4 separate regions of the Homo sapiens genome follow, and regions 1, 2 and 3 are each linked to region 4. Evidence: promoter capture Hi-C in 16 types of primary human blood cells and fetal thymus (Javierre and others, 2016). All regions are on one chromosome and are shown on one strand. Each heading gives the region's core, a stretch centred on a gene start or on the middle of the fragment in contact. The rest is flanking DNA. Distances are from core to core; before and after follow the strand shown.

What was found. Contacts are between HindIII fragments. The CHiCAGO score rates a contact against its expected background, and 5 or more counts as called.
Region 1: the fragment with the promoter of URM1 here is called in contact with the fragment with the promoter of SPOUT1 in region 4 in 1 of 17 cell types (fetal thymus); the score reaches 7.4 in fetal thymus.
Region 2: a contact is called between the fragment with the promoter of GLE1 here and the fragment with the promoter of SPOUT1 in region 4, in 4 of 17 cell types (naive CD8 T cells, non-activated CD4 T cells, total B cells and 1 more). The highest score is 8.9, in naive CD8 T cells.
Region 3: the fragment with the promoter of SLC27A4 here is called in contact with the fragment with the promoter of SPOUT1 in region 4 in 1 of 17 cell types (M0 macrophages); the score reaches 5.2 in M0 macrophages.

Annotation. Positions count from the first base shown.
Region 1 is chr9:128,370,029-128,373,460 of GRCh38, forward strand. URM1 (ubiquitin related modifier 1) reads left to right here and starts at 1,346. Exons shown (of 5, transcript NM_030914.4): 1 at 1,346-1,387. The coding sequence starts at 1,353. RefSeq lists enhancers at 1-517, 518-1,381, 1,445-1,544. The HindIII fragment of the contact is 13,678 bases long and covers 1-3,432 here.
Region 2 is chr9:128,503,242-128,506,681 of GRCh38, forward strand. GLE1 (GLE1 RNA export mediator) reads left to right here and starts at 1,478. Exons shown (of 16, transcript NM_001003722.2): 1 at 1,478-1,663. The coding sequence starts at 1,565. RefSeq lists a silencer at 1,289-1,498 and an enhancer at 1,719-1,878. The HindIII fragment of the contact is 2,110 bases long and covers 686-2,795 here.
Region 3 is chr9:128,339,169-128,342,407 of GRCh38, forward strand. It overlaps SLC27A4 (solute carrier family 27 member 4), which reads left to right and starts at 1,359. Exons shown (of 13, transcript NM_005094.4): 1 at 1,359-1,670. It overlaps TRR-TCT3-1 (tRNA-Arg (anticodon TCT) 3-1), which reads right to left and starts at 998; the gene lies at 908-998. It also overlaps the pseudogene TMSB4XP4. RefSeq lists silencers at 736-1,377, 1,006-1,415, 1,486-1,885 and an enhancer at 2,522-2,701. The HindIII fragment of the contact is 5,439 bases long and covers 291-3,239 here.
Region 4 is chr9:128,828,274-128,831,581 of GRCh38, forward strand. SPOUT1 (SPOUT domain containing methyltransferase 1) reads right to left here and starts at 1,521. Exons shown (of 12, transcript NM_016390.4): 1 at 1,472-1,521; 2 at 837-882; 3 at 462-587. The coding sequence starts at 1,507. It overlaps KYAT1-SPOUT1 (KYAT1-SPOUT1 readthrough), which reads right to left. Exons shown (of 25, transcript NR_182311.1): 14 at 1,472-1,732; 15 at 837-882; 16 at 462-587. RefSeq lists enhancers at 1-915, 1,713-1,772 and silencers at 1,253-1,432, 2,249-2,472. The HindIII fragment of the contact is 15,703 bases long and covers 1-3,308 here.

The DNA of each region.
Region 1 (3,432 bases), core at 96-2,595, 460 kb before region 4:
GTTCCAGCGATTCTTCTGCCTCAGCCTCCCGAGTAGCTGGGACTACAGGCGCACGCCACCACATCCAGCTAATTTTTGTATTTTTTTAGTAAAGACAGGGTTTTGCCATGTTGGCCAGGATGGTCTTGATCTCTTGACCTCGTGATCCGCCTGCCTCGGCCTCCCAAATTGCTGGGATGACAGGCGTGAGCCGCCGCGCCCGGCCTGCCCTGAGCCGCCGCGCCCGGCCTGCCCTGAGCTTTTGCAACAGGCTCCAGTGGTCTCCGTGTCTCTTTCCTTATTCCCCTCAAATCATTCTCCATATTGCAGCCAGAAATTATATTTTAAAACACAATTCTAAAATGTCACTGTCTCCCAAAACCCTTCAGTAGTCTCCCACTGCTCCTAGAGACTGAAATGTTTACCTGCTTACAAGGCAGGGGTTGGCCCCTGAGCACCTTTGCAGCTCCCTCTCTAGATGGATGAAAGTCAGGCTCCCTAACTTCCACCTTCCTCTCCATGTTCCAGCATGTTCTCACCCAGAGCCTCTGGGCCTTTTGTCCTCCTCACTGGAATGCTCCTAGAGGTTTCTCTCCCCTCACAGCCACCTAGTTTACTCAGGTTTTAGAGCCCAGCAAGTCCAGTCTACTCAGTTTTCTTTTTGAAGTTCCTATAACTTCAGTTCCTTTATTTAAGTTTGAGGTTGTACATGTCTTAGTATGCTTATTTGATTACAGTTAGTCTCCCCGCTAGACTGTGAGTGCCCTAAAGGCAGGAACCTTGCCCATCCCCTTTACCACTAGCACCGATCAAAATGCCTGGCACAGGGAGGCGCAATGAACAGCTGTTGAACGAGTGACTTCCAAATCGACAGCAAAGGGGGCGGCTGGATAGCGAGTCGCCCGCTCAGGAGAGATTCTGGGTCGGAAATAAAGATCTGGGAGTCATTTATAATTCCAACCAGACGAGTAGATGGGCTGGCCCAAGCGGTGTGTAGACTGAAGAGATTCTAACTCATGCAAGATAAGCAGCTACGTGGCTCACGGTCACGTCGCAAAAAACCTGGGGGCTCTCCTCCGCCTGCTTGTGGTCCCGTACAAGGCGCTTCCCACCCTGGGTCTCTGAGCCCAGTCGGTGAAAGACGGAAGGAGACCGATTCACAGCCCCAACAGCGCCGGTGATAGTCCCTCTGCCACCCCTTTCCCTCCGCTGCCCTCCCCTCCCCTCCCCTCCCCTCGATGACTTCCTCCAACAGCTGACGAAGCTGGATCCCTGGGCACCGCCTCTTCCGTCCGCGGCACCCGGAGACGCCCGGAAATTTGCGGGCGCGCCGGAAGTTGAGGGGAGTTTCCTGCGAGCTCGGCTTCCTCAACATGGCTGCGCCCTTGTCAGTGGAGGTGGAGTTCGGGTGAGTCACAGAGCTGGGGCGCCGTGGGGATGGATTGAAGTCGTCGGGCCCAGAATTCCTTTCCTTCTGCCGTGGGGCCTGACACGGCCGAATCACTGGGTGTCCCAGTGCCCGCTGTGAGCTACGCTACCCGCCTAGGAGAGTCTGAGAGGCCAGTCTCTCTTGGCAGTGAGGCCGTCTGTCCGGAAATAGAGGCGCACATTGGGAGGGAAATGCTCTCTGTGTACCACTCGGTGCCCTGTGCTCCGCCGGAGTCGGAGGTCGTGACTGTTAGCAGGCAGCCTCTCTCTCTTCTTTTCCATTCCTATCTCGGACCAATCCCATCTGTTTGGCATCTGAGCTCCTAGAACCTAGAAGGACCACCCTCCACCCGCTGATTTCATTCTTTGGGCAGCAGTTTCTTTTTACACTGTTATTAAGGTCTTGTTTCTCGTGGGATGTAGTGGCCAGGGCGGGACTTTTTTCTTTTTCTTTCCTAAGACTTGGGGATGGTAAACAGACCTGAGCCTCCTTCAGGACAGTCAGTAAACTTGCTGATTGCCTTCTGCAGAACTGGAGTCAGGTGGAGACACGGGGACAAATAAGAAATCACACTGAAGGGAACTAACAGGGACAGTATAGTATACACAAGATGAAAAATGCAGAGATTGGGACACACACCAGTTACTGAAGAAACACAGAGCAGGGAGGAAGTCTACCCAAGGCACTATTTGTGCTTCCTACAAACAGGTTTGTCATATGGTTTCAAAGCTGAGGGAAACTGCAGAGCTTAGAGAGAAGGCAAAGAAACAGGCCTTGAAAGATGGGTGGTGTACTTTACAGTATCACGTGGAAAAGAGGAAATAGGTAGGGATGTGTGTGTGTGTGTGTGGAATAGGTAGGTGTGTGTGTGTGCCTGTGTGTGTGTAGATAAGCCAAGGTCTATGTGACAGGAAAAGTCTGGGATGGGAATCTAAAACCTCTGCCCAGTGCCTTTCTTCTCATTGGATGCCTCCCATTTCTTTCATGTTTTCCCTTAATTGGGTAGTTCATTCACCAGCCATTTATTGAGTGCCTACCATGTGCCGGGCAGCAAGCCAGACACTGAGGATACAAAGATAAATAGAAGTCTGTCCGTGCCCTACAGCGTTCAGCATTTCTGCCCCTTAGAAGGGGGGTAAGTCTCATGACTAAGTGCATTTTAATTGATATTGTCTGGCTGCTTGGATCCAATTAGAACTGTATTGGTCTGGACTCCTCACTGTTTTGCCTCACTGACCCTTGGCCCAGCTACACTCCCCAAAGCCTGGGATTCTAGGAGGATCCCTGCTTCCTTGACAGGCCTCAGCAGAGCTGGAAAGAGAGAAGCCACAGACTGCTGTGTTAAGATTTATCTGGGCCAGGCATGGAGGCTCATGCCTGTAATCCTAGTACTTTGGGAGGCTTGGGCAGGAGGACTGCTTGAGCCCAAGAATTCGAGACCAGCCTTGGCAACATGGGGAGACTTCATCTCTACCAAAAAAAAAAAAAAGAAGATTTATCTGCAGACAACTTGCCTTTCATCCTCATGAGTCAGACATGGTCTTTGTTTATCAACAATGTCTCTGCTAGGTACTGTGCTAGCTCAGTGGGGAAGTCATGTGAGGAAGATGGGGCCATTGCTCTCCAGAGCTTACAAACCAGCACAATTGCCCTTTTTCTGACCCAATCATCTCTAACTTCAGTCTCCCTTACCTCCAAGAGCAATAATGACCCCTGGCAAGGCAGGACAACATTCCTCCACCCACCCACCCACCCACCCACCTTCTATCACCTCCTGTCACAGCACAGCGTTCCATGAAAATTGCAGCATTCTCAGGAATGCCCAACATGATGCTCAACCCAGGTTCCTTCTCTCTTTGTCCTTGTGTTGATGCACGTTTTTGCCCTGACCTTTCTTTCATTTCCTATGTATCTTAGCAGACATGATTCACCCTTATCCAGAACTGGAGCAAATTTGCAAAGGCTAACACGCCCTTCATTTTCTCTCTTTTGTCCCTTAGTGGCCCCACTCCCACTCCAGTTCT
Region 2 (3,440 bases), core at 228-2,727, 330 kb before region 4:
GGTGATCTGCCCACCTTGGCCTTCCAAAGTGCTGGGATTACGGCACCCAGCCAACCAATTTCATCACTCCCAAAAAAGAAACGCCATACCCATTAGCAGTCACTCCCCATTCCCCTCCCCCAGCCCCTGGCAACTAGTCATAAAGTTTCTCTGGCTCTATAGATTTGTCTCTTCTGGATATTTCACATAAGTGGAATTGTCCAACATGTGGCCATTCATGACTGGCTTCTCTCAGCATAATGCTTTCAAGATTGATGTTGCAGCGTATCATCAGCACTTTATTTTTATGGCCCCATAACATTCCATTATATAGATGTGGTGTTTCCTCCTGCCAAACAGGGCTGGTTGGGATTCCAAAGAAGCACTATGGCCGGGCGCAGTGGCTCATGCCTGTAATCCCAACGCTTTGGGAGGTCGAGGTGGGTGGATCAACTGAGGTCAGGAGTTCGAGACCAGCCTGACCAACATGGTGAAACCCCGCCTCTGCTAAAAATACAAAATAGCTGGGCGTGGTGGCTGGCGCGTGTAGTCCCAGCTACACGGGGAGCTGAGGCAGGAGAATCGCTTGAACCCGGGAGGCGGAGGTTGCAGTGAGCCGAGATCGAGCCACTGTACTCCAGCCTGGGGGACAGAGCAAGACTCTGTCTCAAAAAAGCAGCATTAAACCCAAAACATTTATTAGGGAAGCTTACAGAGTGGGCTGCAGCAATTCTCGCGACAGACAGAGAGAAGCGGTGTTTCACCTAGGTACATCCCCAGCGAGGGGTCAGGGTATGAAGTTTATATGAGGGTTTATGGAATTTGGCTAAAAGCAGGGGTCAGTTTCAGCGTTTTGGGCAATAACCTAGATATCCTTAGTGCCTAGGGATATGCAAGGCCCGTGTTTGGTTGCAAGTCTGCAGGAAAAAACTTGCAGCTGGCTGGGTCACAGGGCGGTCAAGGCACTCTGATACTTGGTCAGTGCACAGAAAGCGGGGGAACTCGGGAACCGCGCACATAGTACTATATTTTATTTATCCATTCACCAATGGATGGACGTTTGGGTTGCTTTCACTTTTTGGCTATTATGAATAACACTGCTGTGAACATTCATGGACAAGTTTTTATATATACATAGGTTTCATTTCTTTGGCGTATTTTATATATATATATATATTTACCTAGGAGAATTGCTGGGTCAAATGGTAATTGTTTAACCTTTTGAGGAACTGCCAGACTGTCTTCCACAGCAGGTGCTTCATTTTACAGTCCCATGAGCAGTGTATGAGGGTTCCAGTTTCTGCACAGTCTCAAGGCACAGACAAATTTTCAGCAGCCCCGGGGATTGGGAGCGGTGGTTACCTCTGCGGAACGTGCCCCGACAGCCAAGCCCTGCGCGCAGGCGCACTGGTGGGAGGGCGGGAACGCGGGAGCGTCGCCGGAGGTGGGGCGTGCAGGCGTTAGGGGCGGGGCTGTGCTGCGCGCGCGTCCCGGAAGCAGAAGCCTGTGTGGCCTTCCCGGCGGCTGATTCGAGGGCTTGTTTGGTCAGAAGGGGGGCGTCAGAGAAGCTGCCCCTTAGCCAACCATGCCGTCTGAGGGTCGCTGCTGGGAGACCTTGAAGGCCCTACGCAGTTCCGACAAAGGTCGCCTTTGCTACTACCGCGACTGGCTGCTGCGGCGCGAGGTGAGCGGTGGCCCCGGAGGACGTAGGCCTTTCCGGCCCCTCGCGACCGAAACCTTCTCCCTAGCCGTTGGCACGTTCTGCTCCCGGGAACCCGTGCAGTCTAACAACCTGCATTTATTTCTTGACTTCTGTGTGTACATCCCTCTGTCCTGGGGTTTCTGTCCTCTTCAGCCTATTTTAGCGTTTCGGGGAGCTCCCCTGACTTCACAGGTGCCCCGCGCTCTGAAGGCTTCATTGCTACCCTCCGCCAGTTGGGCGCCTTCTCCGTTCTGCTGTTGTCAAAGCAATCTCGGCCCCAGGTTCAGTTAACTTACTGTATGTCTCATGTGCTGGGAGCTCTAGAGTTTGCGACGAACGATTGACACGACCTAATCCATTGCTACTAGTGAAATGACCAAATTTTTAGATTGATTTGGCAGACCTGGAAAGTGAATGGGGGCGTGGTCACCGTACCTAGCATTTGCAAAGCTCTGCGCGAGAAGTGGAGGGATGTGGAGAGTTAAGGCCGAGCTCCCATTCCCGAGTCGCTGCTAGTTAGCTACAGATAAGGCGTTGTCCTGCATCCTCAGACTTCTTGGGAAACAATCCTAAAGTATTTCCCTGTCTTTTATGTTGTTGACAGTTTTGAAAAATACAGACCTTACATTCTGTAGGTTGACTGCCAGCATATGTGCTTTCAAACCACCAGACCAAGGTTAAGCATTCTTGGCAGGAATACCACAGAAATGATGCCATGGCTTTCTCAGTAAGTCACATGAGGAGGCACACAGATGTCAACCCATCCCAACACTGGTGATGCTAATCTTGATCACCTGGTTACGTTATTATCTGCCTGGTCTCTCCGTTTAAAATTCGTCATTTTTCCCTTAGTAATTGTTGGGAAGTAATAATACCAGTATCCTTTTTTCTGGGCAAACCTTAATCCTCCATGGCTTTAGCATTCATTGATGTTTTCCACATGAATCGATACCTCTATGACGTTGCCAGATCCTGTTTCTTTATATCCGCTATTCCTTCTGCATTTGTTAGTTGGCATTCTACTGTAAGGAGGTGCTTTCTATTTTATTCAGTGAGTTGTAATCCATTACTTTTATTATTTATTTATTTTATTTTAAATGTCCCAGATTTTGTAAGCTTGTATCAAAATAATCACATGCAAGGCTAGGCGTGGTGGCTCAGGCCCGTAATCCCAGCACGTTGGGAGGCCGAGGGGGACGGATCACTTGAGGTCAAGAGTTCGCGACCAGCCTGGCCAACATGGTGAAACCGCATCTCTACTAAAAATACAAAATTAGCCGAGCATGGTGGTGCATGCCTGTAATCCCAGCTACTCGGGAGACTGAGGCATGAGAATTGCTTGAACCCTGGAAGCAGAGGTTGCAGTGAGCCGAGATTGTGCTGCTGCACTCAAGCCTGGGTGACAGAGTGAGACTGTGTCTCAAAAAAAAAAATGTAGCCTTGTAAATATGTACAACAATTATGTATTCATAAGAATTAAAAAGAAAAATGTCCCAGATTTGGCTACTGGGCACCTCATTAAGTTGGTTCCTGTGTTCCTGTGACATATTTCCATCTTTCATTGACATTTCTTTACTTTTTGACACAAAAAGATGTCCCAGGTGCAAGTTTCCCTGTCTTAATCCTGGAATCAGCTATTTCTCCAAAGAGGCTGACTCTTTTGAAGTGGAGGATGGTGCTGTATTGGCAAACCAAGATCTGGGAGTTGAGTGTGTTGAGATTCTTGATTGGGTACCATTGCTTCTAGGCCTTCTCAGTA
Region 3 (3,239 bases), core at 109-2,608, 490 kb before region 4:
CATGAGCCACTGTGCCCAGCTTATTTTTATTTTTTGAGACACGGTCTTACTTTGTTGCCCAGGGTGGAGTTTAGTGGTGCAATCACAGCTCACTGCAGCCCCAAGTTCCAGAGCTCAAGCAATCCTCCCACCTCATCTTCCTGAGTAGCTGGGAGTACAAGCAAGAGCTACCTGGCTAATTTTTTTTTTTTTCCTGTAGAGGCAGAGTCTCACTATGTTGCCCAGGCTGGTCTTGAACTCCTGGCTGAAGTGATCCTCCTGCCTCAGCCTCCAAAAGTGCTGGGATTACAAGCTTGAGCCACCACGCCAGTCCCAGAATCTTTTTTTTTTTTTTTTTTTTTTTTTTTTTTGAGATGGAGACTTGCTCTGTCGCCCAGGCTGGAGTGCAGTGGCGCAACCTCGGCTTACTGCGACTTCCGCCTCCCAGGTTCAAGCAATTCTCCTGCCTCAGCCTCCCAGGGATCTATTAATGTTTAAGGACAAGTGGCAACTGTGGATGCCCAACATGGTTACTTAACAAGAAACCAATTTTTCAGAGGCCAAGAGTCCCAACAGGGCCGAGAATCTGGCCACTCGCCTATGGCTCTGGAGGTGGCATGACAAATAAGGGTGGCATGACAAATATAGGTTAACTGATTTGTTGCAGGGACCAGAGATCATAGATGGTGAAGTTAACTAAGGGCCTCCAAATCCGTGTCCTTTGTGCCAACAGGTGTGCCAGGCTGCTCACAAGACACCATGGTACGAGAAAGGATTTCTCGTAGTCACCTAGACACCAGGTTTATGGCTGTGTCGCAGCAAAGTTGGGTGTGACTTATGATTTTCGTTCTGAACCTTATTTGTTAGATAGGTCCTGGAGTCCTTAAAACACGCAGGTGAAAGTCAGGGAGTAGGAGCCATCAAAATTCGACTCTGGTGGGACTCGAACCCACAACCTTTGAATGACCACACTAGGCTCAGCTAGAAGTCCAATGCGCTATCCATTGCGCCACAGAGCCGGCTGCGGAACCCGGCCGCCCCGCTCACCTCTGCCTGAAACCGCCCTCTTAGCGAGCTTCTAGGTGTGGTGCTGGGTGTTTGCTGAACTCGGCCGGGGCCCGAGAGCGTGCTCCGGGTTTTCGGCTGTGGTGTGGACTGGGGTGCTCTTCCTACATCCGGGCGCTGGGGACAGCAGGGGGCAAGGGCCGGGGTCGGCAGGGAGGAAGGGCCGGGGTGAAGCCCGCCTGTCTCCTCGCGGACTCGGGGGTCTCCTCGGCTGGGTGGGGCCGCGCGGCGTGGACTACAACTCCCAGCGTGCCGCGCGGCGGCGCCGCCCGAAGCCGTTGCGCGAGCAGGGCGGGCTGGGGCCGAGCGGCGTCAGGCGCGCTGGGGCTGCGCTGCGCCGCCGGCTCTGTGGCTTGCCGGCTTCGGGGAAGGTGCGGCAGGCGGTGCTGCGGCCTGGCACAGCAGGTTTGGGGTGCGGGAGGCGGGCGGGGTAGGAGCGCGGCGGGCGGGGCCGGGCGGCGGGCGGGGCTGGCGGGGCGGCCGGGCCATGCAGGGCGCAGAGCCGGCTAAACCCTGCTGAGACCCGGCTCCGTGCGTCCAGGGGCGGCTAATGCCCCTCACGCTGTCTACGCTGCTGCAACCGGGCCGCATCTGGACGGGGCGCCGCGCGGCGGAGCCGACGCCGGGTGAGCATAGACCGGGCTGGTGGGTTCCCGGGTGGGGACATGTGCCAGGCCGAGTCGGGCGAGGTGGCGGTGCGGACCCCAGGTGGGGGGCGCGCCCTGCGGCGCTATTTCCCCGACAGACGCACTGTTACCTTGCTGTCTAGGGGCGAGGGCGGCACGCGTGACCCGGGACAGGGGCCCGAGGGAACTAGTCACCCTCTTCTGGCCTCTTCTTGCCCCAGCCTTCCAGGACAGGTTCCTGCCCCTCTGCTATGGCGGGCTATGGGAGGCCAGAGATCTGAGGACCCTGGACCCTGGCGTTGGGGTTGAGGACTCTGGTTCAGTTCCCCCGCCCCCGGCTTTTGCTTTTCGCGAGGGGGAGGGGGAGATGGTCTCCCAGGGCTTCTTGTGGTCCAGACCATTCCCTTTTCCTGGCTTGGAGGCTCTCAGGCCATTTCACATTTGTGACCTTCATCTACTCCCAAGAACAGGAAAACTCGGAGAAAAACAGTCCCATCAGATGTCCCCTTGATCGAGTCCTCAAAGCTCCAGGAATAGAACCCAAGAGTCCTAGCTCAACCCAGCCCCTGAAGCACAGTCAAGTCATTCGCCTTCCCCTAAGCCCTAGACCCCAAAGATTCATCCGAGTGGCTGTGTGTGTCTGTGTGATGGGTGGTGGTGTCTTCAAGGTCCTCCTCGCCTCCCTCAATCAGCTTTGCCCCCTGGGCGGTCACCTTTCAAGCACTTCCAGGCTCTAACTCGTTTTCTGGGTCGCCCTCTATAGACCAACAGACGCACTGCGATACCTGAGTCTATGGGCAGGGACCAAGCAGGGCTCCTTTTCCAGGGAGCTGCCCCTTTGACTTGGCCTGGTCATCCACAGAACCTCCCTGGGTTCTGGGTGGGGAGTCGAGCCAGAGACTTTTTTTTTCTTTTTTTGAGACGGAGTCTCGCTCTGTCTCCCAGGCTGGAGTGCAGTGGCACAATCTCGGCTCAATGGAACCTCCGCCTCCCGGGTTCAAGCAATTCTTCTGCCTCAGCCTCCTGAGTAGCTGGGGTTACAGGTGTGTGCCACCATGCCTGGCTAATTTTTGTATTTTTAGTAGAGACAGGGTTTCACCATCTTGGTCAGGGTGGTCTCGAACTCCTGACGTCATGATCCGCCTGCCTCGGCCTCCCAAAGTGCTGGGATTACAGGTGTGAGCCACCACTGCCAGCGAGCCAGAGGCTCTTAAGTCAGTACCCACCCCCAGGCCATCCGGTTTTAGGGACCCTGGATGTCAGAAGAGTGAACTGTCATGTTTTGGCTAGAAAAGCCTCTTAGAACACGTCTCAGGACAACTCGGTGGTGGCCACTGCGCAGACCAGACTTCGCTCGTTCTCGCATGCCTCGCTCCGCTTTTCCTCCGCAACCATGTCTGACAAACCCGATATGGCTGAGATTGAGAAATTCGATAAGTCGAAACTGAAGAAGACAGAGATGCAAGAGAAAAATCCACTGCCTTCCAAAGAAACGATTGAACAGGAGAAGCAAGCAAGCGAATCGTAATGAGGCGTGCACCGCCAATATGCATTGTACATTCCACAAGT
Region 4 (3,308 bases), core at 271-2,770:
TCACCTGAGGTCAGGAGTTCGAGACCGGCCTCCCCAACATGGTGCAACCACGTCTCTACTAAAAATACGAAAATTAGCCAGGTGTGGTGGCACACTTCTGTAATCCCAACTACTCGGGGGGCCGAGGGAGGAAAATTGCTTGAACTTGGGCAGTGGAGGTTGCAGTGAGCAGAGATGGCGCCGTTGCACTCCAGCCTGGGCAACAGAGCAAGACTCCATCTCAAAAAAAAAAAAAAAGAGAGATAAGGCTTGCCTTCCATAGGCTTGAAATTTACCTAAGCAGGAGGTCAGAACTCAGTTTGCTGGCTCCCTCCCTTCTCTGGGCCTCAGTTTCTCCATCAGGACAAGATGTTTGGACCTACTGGTCTGTAAAGGCCCTTTCAGATAAGACATCTCTGCTCTGCCTGCAGGACAACTACCGTGGGCCACAACCTGTGGCCCTCCCCAAGACCCCAGCTCACCGCGGTCCTCCTTCTCTGCCGCTGCCTCCTCCTCTTCCAGGCGCTTTGCCTGTTCCTCCTGTGCCCGCTGCCGCTCCAGTTTTTTCATCAGCTTGAGATCCTTCCATTTTTTTTTCTCCTCTTTCTCTGGATAAAAGAACATCCTAATTGGCCAAGGAGACAGTTCCCACTCATTGGGTCAGCCTGGACTCTGGAGAGCTGCTGGGTGAGCAGCCAGAGGGCAGCAAGGGAGCCTCCCCAGGGCTCCCGGCCCCTGCCTCCCCACTTTGTGTGCTGCAGGACCCAGAGGGAACAAAGTTGGTGTCTTTCTCCAGGGTTTGACTGAGCACTGGTGGAGTGGCCTATGGGAAGATACTCTTACCCACCCTTACTTACTCTGTTGCTTCCATTTTCGCCACTCAATCCTTTGGCCGTGTTCACCCTGGAGAAGGAGTGGTAGGAGGATTATGAGTGTGAGGCTGATGGTCACACCTGGAGGGGGTCCGTTTGCTGCACCATAGCCAGCCCCTCCACACGGGGCGGCAAGGAAGCCAAGGAACCTCTGCGAACTGCTGCCCCAGAAAGCGGCAGGAGGGCAGGGACCCGCTGTATCCCCAGCGCCTGGGACCCAGCCTGGCACACAGAAAGCACTCAAGAAACTGTCGAATGAGTTCCCACAAAACAGAAGAGAAAACTGAGGCTCAGGGTACAGCACTGCCCACAGTCGCCCTGGAAGTCAGAAAAGGGCTCCAGAAGCCACGAAAGGGCTCCGGATTCAGCATCCGGAGGCGAGCAGGGTCCCGCCTCCGTAATCCAGCGGGGGCCAGGGAGCCGCAGGGGGTTCCGGAGAGGACACGGGCGCTGTTCCCATCCTGCTGAGGCTCACGCGGCACCTTCGGGGGCTTCCGGCCTGGGATCAGCGGGAAGCAGGCAGCAGGAGGCGCGGCCCGGCCCCGGCGAAGGCCCCCACGCCACTGGTTCTCACGCCTCCACCATGCTGCCCTGCACGGGGTCCCGCCGCCCGCACTTACCGGGCCGCACGGCCGCTTCCTGCCGCGCTCCGCCATGTTCCGCACACACCGTCGGTCCCGCCTCTGCCAATGAGACTCGCCTCTTCCGGCCACACCTCCATTAAGCTGTCCAATCGGAGAGCCAATATCGCCCAGGGGCGTGGCCTGGGCGCCCGACGGGCTGCAGGGGTACGCGGGCTGGAGTAGGTTGGGCAGAGTAGGTGTCCAAATAGGCGGCATCGCGGGTACTGTGCTGAATTTTGGATGGCTCGGAGCCCCCCTCTGAGTTGGGACAAATACAACACTCAGACCTCTGAGTAGTTCACTTGTTTAAAAATAATTTTTTTTGAGACAGGGTCTCGCTATGTTGCCGAGGCTGGAGTGCAGTGGAGCAATTCTAGCTCACTGCAGGCTTGAGCTCCTGGGCTCAAGGGATCCTCCCACCTTAGCCTCCCGAGTAGCTGGAACCACAGGTGCGCAGCACCACGCCTAGCTCCTGGAAGGCTTTATACATGGGGACCCTGGGGCCTTGAGCTGTAGTGTGATTCAGAGCTGAAAATGAGATAATTTACTCCAGGTTTCTTATAGATTCGTTCACGTACTCTTTCTTTTTTTTGAGACAGAGTCTCGATTCATTGCCCAGGCTGGAGTGCAATGGCGCGATCTCGGCTCACTGCAACCTCCACCTCCTGGGTTCAAGCAATTCTCCTGCCTCAGCCTTTCAAGAAGCTGGGATTACAGGAGCGTGCCACCATGCCCAGCAAATTTTTTTGTGTGTGTTTTTAGTAGAGATGGTGTTGATGTTGGCCCCGTGTTGGCCAGCCTGGTTGAACTCCTGACCATAAGTGATCCTCCAGCCTCGGCCTCCCAAAGGGCTGGGATTACAGGCGTGACCCACTGCACCCGGCCTTTTTTTTTTTTTTTTTTTTTTTTTTTTTTTTTTTTTGAGACAGAGTTTCGCTTTTCTTGCCCAGGCTGGAGTGCAATGGCTCGATCTCAGCTCACAGGAACCTCCAACTCCTGGGTTCAAGCGATTCTCCTGCCTTAGCCTCCCGAGTAGCTGGGATTACAGGCATGCACCACCACGCCTGGCTGATTTTGTATTTTTAGTAGAGATGGAGTTTCTCTATGTTGGTCAGGCTGGTCTCGAACTCTTGACCTCAGGTGATCCGCCCACCTCGGCTTCCCAAAATGCTGGGATTACAGGCATGAGCCACCACGCCCGGCCTCGTTCTCTTTTAATTAACAGACTATATTAGTTGGGACTACAAGTGTGAGCCACCATGCCCGACTAATTTTTTTTTTTCTTTTTGTACAGATAGTGTCTCACTATGTTGCCAGGGCTGGTCTCAGACTCCAGGGTTCAAGCAATCCTCCCAACTTGGCTTCCCAAAGGGCTGAGATTATAGACTTGAGCCATTAATGCCTTTTATTTTTTGAGATCTAGTCTCACTCTGTTGCTCAGGCTGAAGTGCAGTGGCATGATCTCGGCTCACTGCAACCTCTGCCTCCCAGGTTCAAGCAATTCTCCTGCCTCAAGCTCCCAAGTAGCTGGGATTACAGGCGCCTGCCACCAAGCCCGGCTAATTTTTGTATTTTTAGTAGAGACGGGATTCTCCATGTTGGTCAGGTTGGTCTTGAACTCCCGACCTCAGGTGATCCACCCGCCTCGGCCTCCCAAAGTGCTGGAATTACAGGTGTCAGCCACCGTGCCCGGTCTCGAACTTAGATTTTTTTTTTTTTGAGACAGTCTCGCTCTGCTCTGTCGCCCAGGCTAGAGTGCAGTGGCGTGATCTCCGCTCACTGCAAGCTCCGCCTCCTGGGTTCATGCCATTCTCCTGCCTCAGCTTCCCGAGTA